Regions from separate parts of the Homo sapiens genome. Here region 1 is linked to region 2. Evidence: promoter capture Hi-C in human tissues and cell types (Jung and others, 2019). All regions are on one chromosome and are shown on one strand. Each heading gives the region's core, a stretch centred on a gene start or on the middle of the fragment in contact. The rest is flanking DNA. Distances are from core to core; before and after follow the strand shown. Region 1 overlaps LOC124905020 (a long non-coding RNA gene). Region 2 holds the start of DSCR4 (Down syndrome critical region 4).

Evidence for each region. The method cuts DNA at HindIII sites, captures the fragments that hold promoters and counts their contacts. A contact is called where the count stands out against the background at its distance.
Region 1: a fragment that was not itself captured here is called in contact with the fragment with the promoter of DSCR4 in region 2 in 4 of the 25 tissues and cell types used here (dorsolateral prefrontal cortex, ovary, pancreas and 1 more).

The regions. Positions count from the first base shown.
Region 1 is chr21:38,169,140-38,171,839 of GRCh38, forward strand. It overlaps LOC124905020 (a long non-coding RNA gene), which reads left to right. Exons shown (of 3, transcript XR_007067862.1): 2 at 30-129; 3 at 1,659-2,561. Among named protein-coding and RNA genes, the nearest start is that of DSCR10, 36 kb to the right of the region's middle. RefSeq lists an enhancer at 2,636-2,700. The HindIII fragment of the contact is 4,272 bases long and covers 1-2,700 here.
Region 2 is chr21:38,120,035-38,122,734 of GRCh38, forward strand. DSCR4 (Down syndrome critical region 4) reads right to left here and starts at 1,326. Exons shown (of 3, transcript NR_147130.1): 1 at 1,094-1,326; 2 at 273-374. It overlaps DSCR8 (Down syndrome critical region 8), which reads left to right and starts at 1,417. Exons shown (of 3, transcript NR_026842.1): 1 at 1,417-1,567; 2 at 2,278-2,377. The HindIII fragment of the contact is 7,375 bases long and covers 1-2,700 here.

The sequences.
Region 1 (2,700 bases), core at 166-2,665, 49 kb after region 2:
ATTTGTTCCCCCTGCTCTGTGGTTTCTAGGTGCATTGCCCATCCTTCAGAGAGCTCTGTGTGAATCCATAAAAGGTGCTTAAAGCTTTTCACTCCATGAAGCCTCATCTGTCTCATGAAAGCAATAAATGTAAGTGGACATTTGGGAGGAAATGTTTGCTTTGCATGCTCATAACTGGATGGCTCATTTGGATGGAGATTGCCCCAGACATCCATGTAAGTCCTCCATCCTAGTAGACAGCAAACTACTGCAGCACGAACCATATTACATTACTAACACACTACAAATTATACTGATACACACTACATATCACAATAATTCACATTACATATTACATTAGTAACATCCTCCATATTACATGATTAACTCATTACACCTTATATGAGCTGGTTTGTGCTGCTCCCTATGTAAGCACCCTCTGTAATTCCATCAGGATCTCAAAGGTCTGGAGCTCAGGTTCAGCCACAGTACCTGCAATGCAATGAAATTAATGGTATTATGATAGTAATGATATGATAATATTAATGCAGGCTGTTGTGCAGTACACCTACTAAGGTTCTGGGAAATAGAATCCACAAGACATGATATACACCTTATCCTTCCTTTTCCTCCAAAACACTGCCACGATCTATCAACACCATCATTTAACAGATGTTGAAAGAAAGACTCTAAAAAATAACTTGCCCAAGGCCAGTCAGTGAGTTGGCTGCAAACTCTCTGTCTTTCCCCATTTCTTCCTTTTCTCTATTCCACGTAGTATTTAAGTCATCACCTCCTGTTCACCCCACAGTGCTCAGCTCTGCCACCCCTCACTCACTGGAGCACCAGTGCTCAGGTCACCCACTATGCCTACCTTGCACATCCCACCTCTGGCTGCACCCACAGGCTCACGCTAGGCAGGGAAGGGCAGGTAAGGGCATCAGGCATTGTGCCCTTCCATAGCCAGGCTCATGGAGGGCTTTCTGAGCAGAGATTCTAATTCTGCCAGCTGACCTGGTAGAAGCCCCCAGGCTGCAGCCCTGTTCTGCCCACTTCCACTCCCATGCATAGGGACATCCACAACATCCACACTCCAGGTAACTGAATCCACCTCCCCACTGCAGCATTTCAGAAGATGCTAAGTGCAGGATGAACCACACACTTCCTTCTCCAAACTGGGCCACTTTTGAGAGTAAAAGAGGCATTATTAATAACTGAGACAACAGGTGGATGCTGGACATATGTCATTCACCCTGTTTGACAAACTCCTGTCGCCTCTCACCAGCAGAGGAGGCTGTGAGACCAGAAGACTTGGAAGGAAGTGGCAGGCACTGATTGTTTCTAAGGGAGCTGGGTTGGATCCTCGTTTTGTGTGGTTGGGAGGCTGGCAGCTGGCAGTCCCCTCAAGCCAAGCATGATGTAGTGGGGGTAGGTTATCTTTCTTCTCACTGCCTTAGTGTCCTCAGGATTGCCTTGGGGCCACTTTTCTTGTCATCAGGAAGTGAGCAGGACCACAGCTGATGACCCTCAGCCTGTCATTTTGGTGCAATCCAGGGTTTAACTGGCCGGGGAGTAAAGGGGACTGTTGCACCATTCCAGGCTGGCTGAGCCTTGTATCTCACCTCCCCACATCTCTGTATCCCTGGGGCTAAATGGGGCTGTTTCCATGCTCCTTCTAGAAGCTTCTCCAGCACCAGCCTTCCCCCAAACCAGAACAAGAGCATTGATCTACACCCAAGAGGAGCAGGAATCAGCAGAAACACAATGGAACAAACTGATATGCCATCTAGTGGAAACACAGAAAGCCTCAAATGAAAATCTCAGCCAAAATGAGGCCACTCAACCAGTGTCCAGTGAATCAAGTTTCTGACAAAAGTCAGCTAAATCAAACACCTCTGTGTTTCACCCTTTTTGATGGCAACGCCTTAAATGTGACTGCTGCTCAGAAAGCCAAGTAAAGAAAATATAATGGGGCTGCTATTGGCTCATTCCGAATCAGGCATTTTCTCTCAGGTCAGCATTTGGGATCAGAATTTTGATTACATAATATTGTCGAAGGCAACAGAAAAGGACCATTGACTCACAGGGTGTTACAGCTGATAAAGGACTTCAGAATTAATCAACAAACATTGAGGCAACATTAACTAAAGGTCAAGAACTATTCTAACCACCTTATAAATATTTATTCACTTAATTCTCACAGCAGCCCTATATATAAGCACTAGCATTATCTCCACTTGACAGATAAGGAAACTGAGGCATGAAAAAGTTAAGAAAGGTGCTCAGGGACACACAGCTGATAAGGCTTCGCACCCGTTTGGTTAGGCTCGGAAGCCACTGCACCATGCCCAAGGTCACAGAGCAAGGAGTCCAAGCAGTATTTCCCTTACTCAGAGATATGAATAGCCAGAAACACTTAGGATGTTTGGTTTTACAACCCACAACCTCCTCCCCCACCTTCGCCAAAAGATAAACTATTTTCTTTTTTTCTGGAACTTACCTAACATAACATAATCTACATAAATCTACAAAATAATGTTGTTCATGAGAAAGGCATATTCGATTCAAGCTTATCCACCTTAAACTGCTTCTGCATAACCAACCTAGACGTATACAGAGTCCCTTCTGTTAGTTCCTTTGATGGATTTTTGCTTTTTTTCTCCTGAAAGTAAAAAGCAGGAACATATACTGTGATTTATTAGGTTTTGCATCTGTGACAAG
Region 2 (2,700 bases), core at 76-2,575:
AGTAAGTAAGGGATGGTAAAACTACTATGCAAAGCAAAAGTTACAAAACCAAAGCAAAGACTGGCTCGTTTCAGAATAATCAACGTTTCAGGTTTAATATGAAATAATCGTAAATTTGTTTATACCTAATAACATAGCCATAAAATAAAAATTGACAGATAAACAATCATGTTAAGAGCCTGTATAAGCCAGATTTCTCCAGAAAAACAGAATCAAAAGGATATATACATTAAGAATTATATTAAGAAATTTATTTTAGCATATTGGCTTACATGATTGTGGGGCTGGCAAGTCCAGAATCCGTAGGAGAAGCTGGCAGGCTGAAACTCAGGCAGGAAACGATGTTGCAGACTTTAGGCAGAATTTTTTCTTCTCTAGGAAAATTCAGTTTTTGCTCTTAAGGCTTCTGATTGTATAAGGCCCATTCACAGTATGAAAAGTAAGATTTATGTAAAGCCAACTGATTGTAGATGTTAACTACATCTACAAAATACCTTTGCAGCACTACCTAGATTAGTGTTTGATTAAATAAATGGGCAGTAAAGGCCGGGTGCAGTGGCTCACGCCTGTAATCCCAGCACTTTGGGAGGCCGAGGCAGGAAGATCACTTGAGGTCAGGAGTTCAAGACCAGCCTGGCCAACATGGTGAAACCCCATCCGTACTAAAAATACAAAAATTAGCCTGGCTTGGTGGCGGGCACCTGTAATCCCAGCTACTTGGGAGGCTGAAGCAGGAGAATCACTTGAACCCAGGAGGTTGTAGTGAACCGAGATCGCGCCACTGCATTCCAGTCTGGGTGACAAGAGCAAAACTCTGTCTCACCACAAAAAAAAAAAAAAAAAAAAAAAAAAAAAGGCACTAAAGCCTGGCCCCCATGATGACACAGGAAACTAATCGTCATGGAGACTTTATCCACACTTTTGAATATATGTTACATTTCAACATTAAAACACACACACACACACAAAATCATAAAGCAATCAACAAAATTAAGCTGAATGCTTCGTAATTGCTGGATTCCCTGGGAAGCTGACTCTGAGATGGAGATTAGCGTGCAGGACATTTCTTACGGGTTGTTCTTGGGATCAATACCTGTGGAGAGGAGAAGCTGAGGCAGGATCAGGAAGCGGGGAAGTAGAGTGCAATGCTGGTGAAGCGGCATCACTGTCTGGGGTAAATATCCGGGGTTCATCATCTCTCGTCAAGATGATTAACGACATGGACACACATGGGTGAGTTAAGAAGCGGAAAGTTTAATAGGCGGAAGAAAAGAGTGAGGAGACCAGCTCTCAGACATCCTTAAGGGAAAGGCTGGCCCGTGACTGACGGCAGCAGGTTTTACGGGCAGGCTTGAGGAGGCGGTGTCTGATTTACGTGGAGCCCAGAGATTGGTTCGACCAGGGGTGACGTTTACGTAGCGCGCAGGGAAGGCTGGTCACCCCACCCTAATCTTGTTATGCAAATAGGCTTCCCACTTGGCAGGGGCCGTCTTGTCCACTCGTTTCTGTAAACATGGGTGGCAAAAAGAGAAGATGGAGCTGCCATTTAGAACATGCCTAATCCCAGGTAGTGTTTTTTGTTGTTGTTGTTGCTGCTGTTGTCGCTTTTTGAGTCGGAGTTTCGCTCTTGTTGCCCAGGCTGGAGTGCAATGGCGCCATCTTGGCTCACCACAGCCTCCGCCTCCTAAGTTCAGGCGATTCTCCTGCCTCAGCCTCCTGAGTAGCTGGGATTACAGGCGTGAGCCACAGCGCCGGCCCCAGGTAGTATATTTTTATTGGCACAACTGCCGGTATTTGCCTGTGCAAGCTTTCAGCTTGCTTGTCTGTGTCTGCAGCTCGATTTTCCAGGTTGCTTTTTGTTAGAAAAGAAAATGATTTGGGGGCTGCTTTTCATTAAAAGGAAGACCTTACTGAGGACTCCCATACCTTCACTATCTGCCTAAGTACTTTCTTCTTAACTCCTATATCACTGGGTCAGCAGCAACCCCAGTCAAACCTCAAGGGAGACGGGAAGATGGGACGATCTGTCAGAGGTATGCTGAGTTGAGGCAAGAGAGCTGACCTTTATGGATTGCCAATCAGTGACTCATTGGAAGTGGGGCAACCTGGAAGGAAATGTGGCCTTAGGTGAGGCAGCTGTCTTCAGAGGAGGCAATTTCTTTGTATCTGGAGGGGCAATTGTTAGTGTTCCCCTGGACTGAAGGGTGAATTATGGAGAATGGAATAGAACGATTTGTTACTATGATTTGGTTGATGACTTATTTCCTGTTTCCTTAGCTTCATCTTGCTGAGCAAAAATGAAGGAGCCTGGACCCAACTTTGTTACTGTGAGAAAGGGTCTTCATTCATTCAAGATGGCATTTGTTAAGCACCTACTGTGAGTAGATGATCTCCTGTCAAAGACAGTTAACAAATCCTCGGAATATTGCTTCATGTACAGTTATTGGAGATGAGTAACTTACATTCTCTTAATTGTAATGGTTCCTTGGAAAGTCATCGTGGAAAATGAAGGCTGGCTCATACATTTTCCCAGACAGGAATTTGGCTGCCAACAGGGAATTCTAAACAACTAAAAACTCCAGATGATGAATGCACAACATAATGATGGTTAAATTAAAAAAAAAAAAGAGCACGGTAATAAAATTTCCATGAAATATTTTGTGTAAGCGCAGATAATCAGTCATTTTCTTTATAGAATTC